Regions from separate parts of the Homo sapiens genome. Here all the other regions are linked to region 2. Evidence: promoter capture Hi-C in 16 types of primary human blood cells and fetal thymus (Javierre and others, 2016). All regions are on one chromosome and are shown on one strand. The core of a region is centred on a gene start or on the middle of the fragment in contact, and the rest is flanking DNA. Distances in the headings are between cores, read along the strand shown. Region 1 overlaps LOC105369657 (a long non-coding RNA gene). Region 2 holds the start of GABARAPL1 (GABA type A receptor associated protein like 1). Region 3 overlaps LINC02470 (long intergenic non-protein coding RNA 2470).

The links. The method cuts DNA at HindIII sites, captures the fragments that hold promoters and counts their contacts. A CHiCAGO score of 5 or more calls a contact.
Region 1: a contact is called between a fragment that was not itself captured here and the fragment with the promoter of GABARAPL1 in region 2, in 2 of 17 cell types (total CD8 T cells and naive CD8 T cells). The highest score is 7.3, in total CD8 T cells.
Region 3: a contact is called between a fragment that was not itself captured here and the fragment with the promoter of GABARAPL1 in region 2, in 1 of 17 cell types (neutrophils). The highest score is 5.3, in neutrophils.

Annotation. Positions count from the first base shown.
Region 1 is chr12:10,513,409-10,517,238 of GRCh38, forward strand. The region is part of intron 3 of LOC105369657 (a long non-coding RNA gene); the gene reads right to left. It also overlaps a transcript of EIF2S3B not described here. Among named protein-coding and RNA genes, the nearest start is that of EIF2S3B, 9.4 kb to the left of the region's middle. The HindIII fragment of the contact is 184 bases long and covers 1,620-1,803 here.
Region 2 is chr12:10,210,154-10,214,141 of GRCh38, forward strand. It overlaps GABARAPL1 (GABA type A receptor associated protein like 1), which reads left to right and starts at 2,724. Exons shown (of 4, transcript NM_031412.4): 1 at 2,724-3,066. The coding sequence starts at 2,977. GABARAPL1-AS1 (GABARAPL1 antisense RNA 1) reads right to left here. Exons shown (of 3, transcript NR_170310.1): 2 at 3,901-3,988; 3 at 3,496-3,809. RefSeq lists an enhancer at 1,961-2,503 and a silencer at 2,597-2,856. The HindIII fragment of the contact is 15,130 bases long and covers 1-3,988 here.
Region 3 is chr12:9,935,725-9,939,892 of GRCh38, forward strand. LINC02470 (long intergenic non-protein coding RNA 2470) reads right to left here. Exons shown (of 5, transcript NR_104634.2): 4 at 3,339-3,446; 5 at 855-1,090. Among named protein-coding and RNA genes, the nearest start is that of CLEC2A, 5.4 kb to the left of the region's middle. The HindIII fragment of the contact is 6,613 bases long and covers 1-4,168 here.

The DNA of each region.
Region 1 (3,830 bases), core at 462-2,961, 300 kb after region 2:
TGGGGTGGGAGTTTCAGACTTGTTCAGTGGGAAGAGAAATTTTTTTCTGAGACAGATGGATGGGTCCCTGTGTATTTGTTGGAGGATTTGCAATCATTATCCCATTAATGGTTATTTGGATAGTTTCGAGATGTTTCAAATTGTTAACAGCACTGCTGTAAATATTCCTGTAAATTTGCATTGTTGTACTTATGCAAATATTTCTCTTGGATATGTAGTTAGAATTCCTGAGCCATGTTCAGCTTTAGAAGATAAAATCAAACTGTTTCCCAAAGTGGTTGTATCAATTTATATTTCCTTTAATAACATATAAGAATCATATAAGGCCGGGCACAGTGGCTCACGCCTGTAATCCCAGCAATTTGGGAGGCTGAGGCGGGTGGATCATTTGAGGTCAGGAGTTCAAGACCAGCCTGACCAACATGGTGAAACCCCATCTCTACTAAAAATACAAAAATTAGCTGGGCATGGTGGCGTATGCCTGTAGTCCCAACTACTTGGGAGGCTGAGACAGGAGAATCACTTGAACCTGGGAGGTGGAGGTTGCAGTAAGCTGAGATAGTCCCATGGCACTCCAGCCTGGGTGACAGAGCGAGACTCCATCTCAAAAAAGATAAATAAATAAAAGAAGAAGAAGAATCATGTAGCTCTCCATACTTTCAATGCTTGGTAAATTTTTTTTCTTAGCCATAATTTAAAAAATAATTTTTTTGAACTCAGTGTCTCTGTTTCCTAATTGGCCAATAGGTTTTAGCCATTGCAATCTACTTTCACCATAGCTTACTCTCCCAGATACTCTACTATATTGGGTTCCCTCCTACTTGTCTCATCAAAATATCATTTTTTTTTGCTATTTACTCATATTTTATTTCTAAATGTTGACTTATCCTAAAGATCATCATTCTGACCCCTTCTCTTCTAACATAATATAATACTCCCTGATGTTACAAAGCTTTTTTTGTCATCTGGCTCTCCTTTCCTTACAATGTTTTCAAATACTTATTATATTAATTGATAATTCCACAATTTATATATCCAGTCTAGGTATCTCTCTTGATCTCAGACATTTAATCCTTCCATATACATGCCAATGGTCTATGTCTGCTACTAAAAGCTCACTCTGGAGACACAGACCAATTCTTTCTGGTTGTCTCCAGTGATATACCACAAAGCACCTAAATCATCACCATTATCACAACAAACATAGTTTAATGTTCTTCTTGTGTTTTCTATAACATTTAATAGAATTATATCCATCAAGGTGTGAAGGCTGATATGATATGAAATTATGGATTTCCTCCTCTCCCTCAACCACTGAATCCAATGCAGATTCCTGCAATTCTACGTTGTAAATATTTCTCATATAGGTTTCCTACCCATCATTGCTTTTTTTCATGATGCCAGTTTAGACAGTCATTGTCACTAACCTTGACTCCTAAAACAATTTCCTTTACATCCCCCCACCCACTTTCTAGGCTACTCAGATTGACCTCTCTAAAATCCATATCTGCTCATGTAACATGAGTCATATTGGTCCTTCACTTAAAATCATCTAATCGTTTTCTTTGCCTTTAGGGGAAATCTAAAAATTTTTAACATAGTGCAAAAGACCCTCATGAAGCTTCATACCTGTCCAAATCAATTTCTAGCCACATTTTTTATTACCCAAGAACTATTTGCAATTATAATACCTAAATCTGCCCTTTATTCATATTCTTCACTCCATCTACATTAGTCTTGTTTACCTTCAGCCCCCCAATTCCTGCTTGTCCTCTACTTCACATCAATTATGATCTACAGGGAAGCTTTTATGACCTCAAGATGTTATATGACATTCATCTGATCCTTTCATGATACGATTACAGCACTAGCAGTATTTTATATTTCAATCTGCTTCACTTAAAAAAAACTTCTCCTTTCAACTGAGCTCATTGAAAGCTGATAATTTAAAAAAAAATTCTGTATCATCGGTGCCATATATAGTTCCTGACCTATAGAAGATACCCAAAGTTGTTTGTTGAATGAATGAACCAAATAATTAATAATAATCAGAATAAAGATATTGAAAGAAAGTGTAGAGGACAGTTTTGTAAAAACTGATGTGAAATATATCAAAACTGGTATATTTCAGTTTATTACCCAGGAATTGTTGGCAATTATAATACCCAAATCTGTCCTTTATTCATGTTCTTCACTCTATAACTCTAGTAACATTTTATTTGTATAGAAAGGACATCAAATTTATTCTCTTTGTGATTTAAGCAGTATTTCAGTAAGATAAAAATGTAATAATCAAAGATTCTCCCAACTCACTGGTCATATGCAAACCCCATTTTACACACAAAAAAACTTAGTGTTATTTTATATATAATATACGTATACACACACACATACTAACTTATACTAGTATACTACATGTATATATATGTGTGTGTATACATGGGTACACTATGTCTGTGTGTATATTATATACATACTACATACATACTAATTTATACTAGTATATATATATTAGCTTATTTTTAGTATAAAATAAGTGTTAGTATACATATGTAAAATAGGTGTTAGTATATATATACACTAACATATTTTTAAATTTTATTAAAATAAATTATTTTAAAATTTTATTTTTAAAATTTCACTGGTAAGTAAAGTGTAGTGTATCTGAAATTTTTGTGTAATCACAGCTATATGCTCTTTTGTGTGGCTAAATGATAAACAAAAACTAAATGATAACAACATAATAAAATCATTTTCATCAATATCATCAGTACCATTATGATTGCTAACATGTCTCTAGAACCTTATAGTTTACAAAGTTTCGTAGAGGTTCCACAGTTATAGTGTCTCATTTTTCATCCTGTCTTATTGCTATCATATGAAATATGTGTAGCTGATACTCATGCATATATCGTAAGCCTGCAAATGCCAGCCAGCAACTCCCAGGGTTACTGCAACAGTATGCCATAAAAAGTCTATACAAAATCAAAAGGCAGAATATATAGTGAGCATGACAAAGCCCTCAGAATTAGAGCAAAATGAATATTTATTGTAGAGTTTAAGATTAAAATCACTATGCTGATCACAAATCTCATAAAATATTACACATAAATACACCTCTCAATATGTAAAGAAGGAGATATGCAAACAGGGACAATTTGACTTCCTCTTTTCCTAATTGAATACCCTTTATTTCCTTCTCCTGCCTAATTGCCCTGGCCAGAACTTCCAACACTATGTTGAATAGGAGTGGTGAGAGAGGGCATCCCTGTCTTGTGCCAGTTTTCAAAGGGAATGCTTCCAGTTTTTGCCCATTTAGTATGATATTGGCTGTGGGTTTGTCATAGATAGCTCTTATTATTTTGAGATACGTCCCATCAATACCTAATTTATTGAGATTTTTTAGCATGAAGAGTTGCTGAATTTTGTCAAAGGCCTTTTCTGCATCTATTGAGATAATCATGTGGTTTTTGTCTTTGGTTCTGTTTATATGCTGGATTACATTTATTGATTTGCGTATATTGAACCAGCCTTGCATCCCAGGGATGAAGCCCACTTGATCATGGTGGATAAGCTTTTTGATGTGCTGCTGGATTCGGTTTGCCAGTATTTTATTGAGGATTTTTGCATCAATGTTCATCAAGGATATTGGTCTAAAATTCTCTTTTTTGGTTGTGTCTCTGCCCGGCTTTGGTATCAGGGTGATGCTGGCCTCATAAAATGAGTTAGGGAGGATTCCCTCTTTTTCTATTGATTGGAATAGTTTCAGAAGGAATGGTACCAGTTCCTCCTTGTATCTCTGGTAGAATTCAGCTGTGAATCCATCTGGT
Region 2 (3,988 bases), core at 1,474-3,973:
ATAAATAAATAAAAATAAATACAAAACTCACCCACAAAATTAAAGAAACTAAGTTTCATTACTGGCACCAGAAAACGAATCACATAGTCCCACTTCTTCATGTATTTTTCTTCATGGCATCTTTCAATCTTTATGTATAAAAATTCATGAGGGCAGGGCGCGGTGGCTAGTACCTGTAACCCTAGCACTTTGGGAGGCCGAGACGGGCGAATCACCTGAGGTCAGGAGTTCGAGACCAGCCTGGCAGCATGGCAAAACCTCGTCTCTACTAAAAATACAAAAAAATTAGCTGGGCGCGGTGGCGGGCGCCTTGTAATCCCAGCTACTCAGGAGGACGAGGCCGGAGAAAATTGCTTGAATCCAGGAGGCAGAGGTTGCAGAGAGCCTAGATGGAGCCATTGCACTCCAGCCTGGGCGACAAGAGAGAAACTCCATATCAAATAAATAAATAAAATAAATAAAATCCATGAGTTATTTTATCACATTATATGTTTATAATTTTAAGTCTTACTTTCAAATTGAAAACAGTTTAATTTTCAGTCGCTCATGTTAGGTTTTTTTTTTTTTTTTTAGACAGAGTCTAGCTCTGTCGCCCAGGCTGGAATGCAGTGACACGATCTTGGCTCACTGCAAGCTCCCGCTACCACGCCCGGCTAATTTTTTTGTATTTTTAGTAGAGGCGGGGTTTCACGTGCTAGCCAGGATGGTCTCGATCTCCTGACCTCGTGATCCACCCACCTCCGCCTCCCAAAGTGCTGGGATTACAGTCGTGAGCCACTGCGCCCGGCCTCATTTTAGTTTTGATGCAAATATAGTTAAACCCTCCCGGGTTCTCCCTTCCGGGTTCAAGTGATTCTCCTGCCTCAGGCTCTCGAGTAGCTGGGGACTACAGGCGAGCGCCACCAGGCTCAGCTAATTTTTTCTGTATTATTAGTAGAGACGGGGTTTCACTCGTCTCATGTTGGCCAGGATGGTCTCTATCTCTTGACCTCGTGATCCACCCACCTTGGCCTCCCAAAGTGCTGGGATTACAAGCATGAGCCAACGCGCCCGGCCTATTTTTATTTATTTATTCTTTTTGAGACAGAGTCTTGCTCTCTCTCCCAGGCTGGAGTACAGTGGGCGATCTCAGCTCACTGCAGCCACTGCCTCCCGGATTCAAGCGATTCTCCTGCCTTAGCCTCCACAGTAGCTGAGACTGTAGGAGCGCGCCACCATGCCTTGTTAATTTTTGTTTTTTCTGTAGAGACAGGGTTTTGCCATGTTACCCAGGCTGGTCTTGAACTCCTGAGCTCAAGCGATCCTCGGCCTGGGCCTCCCAAAGTGCTGGGAGAACAGACGTGAGCCACCGCGCCTGGCCCCCTGTGGGTGTTTTTAAAATTAGAGACACTGAGACCCCGACTGAAGAAGATAGGCCACGGGGCTGCTGTTATCTAATATTTATCAGAACTCACCCGACTTGTATGGGCAACGCAGCCCCTTTTCACTGTTCTTTTTCTTTGCAAACTCCACAGTCCTCCCTGTCGCTGCCCTACAGTACTGGTTGGAAGGTCTTTCTTCTTTGACTCTAGGTGGGGAAATCCAGAACGAGGCTTCGCCTCACCTGCCCTAATGCCCAATCTTCTACTAGCATTCCAGGCAGCGCTTTCTAGTCACGTGAGGGATACCTAACCACTGGAACTAAATAAGATGTGGGGGAACAACTGAGGTCATCACCTAAATTGCTTGATACTCTCTTTTCCAGAAGACGAGCCCCCTTTCTGAGTTTATGGCAGAAAGTGAATCCCTCCCTCCCTCCCTTCCTTTCTTTTTCTGTAAGACGGTGTTTCGCTCTTGTTGCCCAGGCTGGAGTGCGACGCCGTGATCTCCGCTCGCCGCAACCTCCGCCTCCCGGGTTAGAGCGGTTCTCCTGCCTCAGCCTCCAGAGTAGCTGGGATTACAGCCATGCGCCACCACGCCCAGCTAATTTTGTATTTTTAGTAGAGACAGGGTTTCTCCATGTTGGTCAGGCTGGTCTCGAACTCCTGACCTCAGGTGATCCGCCCGCCTCGGCCTCCTGGGATTACAGGCGTGAGCCACCGCGCCCGGCTAGAAAGTGAATCATTTCTATATTTGATTGTACGTGAAGCCCTCGGTAGTCCTTACTGACATCATGTCTCCTTTAGACTTTGATTACACTCCGTGTCCTTCATCTGACTCCTCTCTTCAGATTCCTGAGTCACGCTCTGTTTATGTTGCTGTTCAGGAGCGAACTGCGGCACCGCCCAAACACTGTGACGCCAGCGCGGGAGGAGGGCCGCGGGAGGGGCAGCGGAACGCGCAGAGGGCACGGTGCAAGCACGGGACAGCTCTGCATTGGCCAAAGGGATCCCAGGAGGCCTGGCCCTCTTTTCTCCTGAGGCTGGATCCCAACCAGCAGGAAAAGGCTGGATTTTCGCCTTTTGTATTTGTTTTGGGGCCCAACCAAGAAAAACAGTGGAGGGGGAATAAAACATGTTTAAATCTTTTTTTTGTCTTAAAACCATCTTTAATTTCACAGTCACAAAATAAAACATAACTCGAATGTTTTGATGTTTGCAGTGACATCGATTGTGAAAAAGGTTAGCCAGAAAGGAAACGCAGTGAGACAGAGCGCTCGGCCACCCCCTGCCCTGGGCGCCTGGCGCATGGGGGGCGGGGCGGGGCTCGCGGGGTGACGTCACAGCCCGACGCGCCACCCAGCTGTTTTTGTGCTCCCAGCTCTAGCGAAAAGCCGCCGGTATTTCTCCATCTGGCTCTCCTCTACCTCCAGGCAGGCTCACCCGAGATCCCCGCCCCGAACCCCCCCTGCACACTCGGCCCAGCGCTGTTGCCCCCGGAGCGGACGTTTCTGCAGCTATTCTGAGCACACCTTGACGTCGGCTGAGGGAGCGGGACAGGGTCAGCGGCGAAGGAGGCAGGCCCCGCGCGGGGATCTCGGAAGCCCTGCGGTGCATCATGAAGTTCCAGTACAAGGAGGACCATCCCTTTGAGTATCGGAAAAAGGAAGGAGAAAAGATCCGGAAGAAATATCCGGACAGGGTCCCCGTGAGTGTAGAGGAGCGGAGGGGATGGGAGGGGAAGGGCCCGCGGGGGCGGGGGCGGGTAGTCGAGATGGCTTCCCTGGGGCGCCCAGGCGGCTCTGGAGAAGGGAGGTTCCGAGAATTACTTAATCCTGAACGCCCTTCAGTGCCAGAGCCAATGGACGTCCAGACTGTAGAGCTTTTAAAACCCCGTATGCCTGGGCCCCGAACCCCACTTCAGGGCTGACGGCGTTTTGGGGGCCGAGCCGCCGTCTTCAGTGACTCAGCAACCCACACACGGTCTCAGCAGCTGAGACCGTGTGTGGGTTGCGGTGCACAAAATAGGGCCCCTGTGGGCGAGACTGGTTAGATCGGGGCCATGGATTGGCTGCCTTTAAGAACGCAGGGACATTGTGCTGTGCGGTGAGGTTTGCGCAAACCCAGTCGATTTCTGCCTTGGCTGGTTCTCCTTTAATGAAGTTGACTTTGGCTCTCATATCATTGGTCTTGGGACGAAAAGGTTCAGAAGCTATTCAGTAATTTTCTTGCATTACAGGGGGTTAGGGGAGCACAAGACAGTCCTGGCCTGGAAAACAAGGTCACGTTCTCTGCCCAACAGCCCTCTTGCCTCATCGTTCTAGGCTCCGGGGCTTGTGTGGGGACAGCCAGCCTCCTCGTGTTGATTTCTGATCACCTGGTACCTGGTCGCGATAAGGCAGGACTGAGACGTTTTTTCTCCGTTTTGGACACCGGCTTAAGTAGTTAAAACTACCGCAGGCAGTGAGTAGGAACAGAAAAGTATTAGGTATCTTTCAGCATCCGGGCGTTTTCCCCATTACCCCCTCCCCCGCCCACTTGCCTGGTGTTTCTCTAATGCAGGCTGCGCAGCCGAATTGGAGGGCAGAATATGGCTTAAGTGGTAGGGGGACCAGCAGCTGTTGGATTTT
Region 3 (4,168 bases), core at 1,106-3,605, 270 kb before region 2:
GCTAATGGAGATGTTTAATGACCTTAAAAATGCATAAGTCTCATTCCCCATCCTCCTTTTGCTAACGATGGTCATTTTTTGTAGCACAATAATCTGAAAATTTTAGAATTATTTTTGTTCTTGTACAGTACAGCATGTAAATTATAATTTAACAACACCTGCATTTAACCTGCTAACACGGTTTACACACTATTAAATCCCGGCCCCATAGAGAATGAGAAGATGAGATGCTGATAAAATTTGCTTCTGATGATGCTGAACATACCATCTATTTTTTCTCTTCTTTTTTTTTTGAGACGGGGTCTCGCTCTGTCACCCAGGCTGGAGTGCAGTGGCGCGATCTCTGCTCACTGCAAGCTCCGCCTCCCGGGTTCACACCATTCTCCTGCCTCAGGCTCCCGAGTAGCTGGGACTACAGGCGCCCGCCACCCCGCCCGGCTAATTTTTTCTATTTTTTAGTAGAGGGTAAGGGGTTTCACCATCTTACCCAGGATGGTCTCCATCTCCTGACCTCGTGATCCGCCCACCTCAGCCTCCCAAAGTGCAGGGATTACAGGCATGAGCCACCGCACCCGGCCAACCATCTATTTTTTCAATATTATTTTCCACATTGTTTGAATGTCTGTAATGTGTGTGAGACCCAGCTGAATTTAAAATGTGGTTCTACCATTTACTATAATCCCAGGTAAACAATCTTTCATTTGCTCATTTATTTCAGCAAAAAATGATAAAAATTCTTCATCATTTAGGGGTAAAAATATTTAGCATAGTTCATGGTACAAGTTAATACTCAAAAGAGAATTACTCATTATATCAGGAAATGTAAAAGCGAAGAAAAGAAAACTAGGCCAAAGTAAAATATTAAGAGGTGCAGAGACTTTAATATCAGCCAGATGTTAACCCTTGCCCTCTGTCCTTCTGAGACCCGTGTAAGTATTAGCTGGAATCTAAACCCCATAGGTTTGTGGGAATCCGGAGAACTCTCCATGATTTCTTCAAGTCACCAGGGCTTCCTTCTTCGTGGTCCTCTCCACTTCTAAATACTCACGTTTTGCTCCCATGACTCATAGCACAAAACTCGATTCTTTCACTAGTTTCAGCAACGACAGCAACAACAAATCCACTTAATGTAAATAATTCGCTAGTTTCATAACTTGACTAAAGACAAAACAAATAGATTAATTCTTTATTTACTGGACCTCCTGAGAAATAACTGAGCACAGCCTCGAAAATAGAACGTAAATTTCATTAGCCCGGTTTCTAAAACACGTGCAGTGTGGAAGGAGTAGAGGAAGTGAAACAAGCTGTTGCTCTCCTCCTATCTTTCTCCAAATTTTACCTCAGGACCCTGATGGCAGGAAGAAAAGGACACTATGTGACTTCAGTGCCTAACAACACAGTCCTGGAAGTTTACGCTGTTGATACTATAGCAAACATTGTAATCATTTTGTGAGGGATTGGATTCTTCCCTTTATACTGTAGCATAAACATTGATATATCAATGTGTTTAGCCATTTAGAAATTATAAAGAAGGGGAGTGTAACTGACATTTCATTGAACATACCTTTCATATATTACAAAATTGGTCTATTAATGCTGAAATAAATGTTCACATTTGGCCACTCTTTATCACCATCACTGTAGTGAAACAGGTATTCTTTACTCAATAGATTACGATACACATAAGTAAACAAATAAAATCTAAAGAAAAGATTTCCTACATTTATATTTTATGCCATACATATAAACATGTGAAATTCAAAATTCAAAACGGAGGAAAACAGGATGGTTAATCATGATACATTTCTGGTTATACTGTAATTATTTGGGGGAACTTCACAGTACTGGTGTACACTTTCCTAACTTCTAGGGTAACTTCAAATTTTTATCCTGCCCATTCCCAAAATATATGTGTATTTTTATGCTTATCCAATCCATAGTGCCAACTAATAACAACCGTTATGGGCTGAATTATAGGCCCCCAAATTTCATACATTAAGTGCCTAACTCCCAGTACCTGAGAATGTAACAGATTTGGAGATAAGGTATTTGTTTTTTTTAAAAAAGAAGTGATTGAGGTAAGAAAAGGTCTTTAGGGTGCACCTTAATCCAATATGACTGATGTCCCTATAAGAAGAAATAAGTTAGACACAGACTTGAGTGTGTACAGAAGGCCACATGAACACAGAGTGAGAAGACAGCCATCTGCAAGCCAAAGAGAAGGGCCTTAAAAGAAACCAACCCTACTAACACCTTGATCCTGGACTTAACGGCCCCCAGAGCTGTCTTTGAGCCACCCATTCAGTGGCATTTATTACAGCAGACTTAGCAAATTAATACACCAATGTTAACTCCTGTCTCATTTTTTGATGGGCCTGTATATAATATGTAATGCCACATTAAGCTGTTAATATTTTCTTTCAAGAAAATATAATATTATGTTTTATAGTCAGAAAGTTTAATCTGTCTTTTTTTTTTACATTTTTCAAAGATAAAATATAATATTGGGTATATTATCCCTCTCAAATCATTGTGCATTTTCACCCCAAATTGAATGTAAATACAATAATCATAAGAGAATTTTCTCAACTTTAGAAAGTTCCGCTACTAACTTTATTATATTATATACAACATGTAATATCTGGCATGGAGTGCTACAGAACCAGTATCTATTACAAAGTGGGCAGTCAATAAATGGTAGCTAGTGGTCACCTTTAGTTCACCAAAGAATACTGAGAACTCAATATCCTTTATATGACCTTCTCCACCCTGACGTTGGAGAAATTTGTAAGTGTTTTAAGAACAAAATAGATTCTAAGTGTATGATGAGTTTTTTCAAGCTATGGAATATAAAGAAGTTCTTGAATTTTAAACAAAGGTAAACTGAGGCAAACACGTTCTCTTCTTAACTTACTCTTGTGCATGTCAGGCCACTGGTGGGTGCGGAAAGTGTAGGCTTCAGTACACTCTCTAATGCTCTCCCATCAATGAAAGGCCAAAGGAACAACAACAAAAAAAACAAAAACAAAAGGCAAGGTCCCAGGTCCAAAGAGGAAAGGATCAAACTGCTTAGACTTGCATCCAGTTCAGGATAAAGGGAACACTTGTGACTCACATGTGGTATATACCAATTCCATATATATACATAAATATTGATATGTGATGCCAAACCCTCACTAAAAACCGTAACTTTGTCTAAATATTCTCTTTGGCATCTATTTTTTGAGGGTCTTTTGGGGGGATGATGTGGAGGAATCTATGGAGGAAGCCAGTTATAGACTCAGAATCTTTACCACGCTTTACACATTTAATAGTAAATACATGTTAGTAAGGCTTACCAATTGCTGAATGTAGCTCCATCTGCCCACATCCACGTTTTGTTTGCATTGTGCTTGCTCAGTTCAAACCAATATAAAGACGGCCCCAGATAATGCATCAAAGATTCCCTTTACAAAATACAGAGTGCTGTCATAGATTTCTTCTAGTTTTCTCATTCTCACTCCCTCCAGTGCCCTTTAAGTCTATTATTATCTTGCACAGTTACTGCAAAGGCCGTATAACATGATTCCCTCCGTTTACATTTGAGACTCAGTAGCCAACCTCATCACAGCAAAGATTATGATTCTTTTAAAACTTAAGTCAGATCCTATTACATTTTCCCTCATAATTTGGCAGTATCTCCCTATTTTGCTTGGAGCAAAAACTAAACTCTTTACAATAGCCTGCAAGACCCTAATGATCCGCATTCTTCACTCAATCCCTCATTTTAGATAGATTGACTGGCTGCTTCTTTTCTGTTCCTTGAATATTCCAGACATTCACTGGCCTTAAGACACACGCTCCAGCCATTTTCCTTTCCTGGAAAGTTCACTTCTAGATAGTCCCTTACCTGCTTCACATCCTTCCTAAAATGTCACCATCTTATTGGGATATAACCTTACCTGCAGTAAACCCACTCCCTTAATTTTCATTTTTTTGCATAAAACTTTCCAACTTCTAACACAATATATAAATTACATATTTAATAAGATAATTTTTCATTGCTTATCTCTTCCCCTAGCATGTAAACTCCACAAGGGCAAAGATCTTTGATTCTTTGGTTTGCTAATGTATTACACCCTAGGAGTGTGCCTGTCTTTTAGTAGCTATTAAATGAGTTTAATATTGC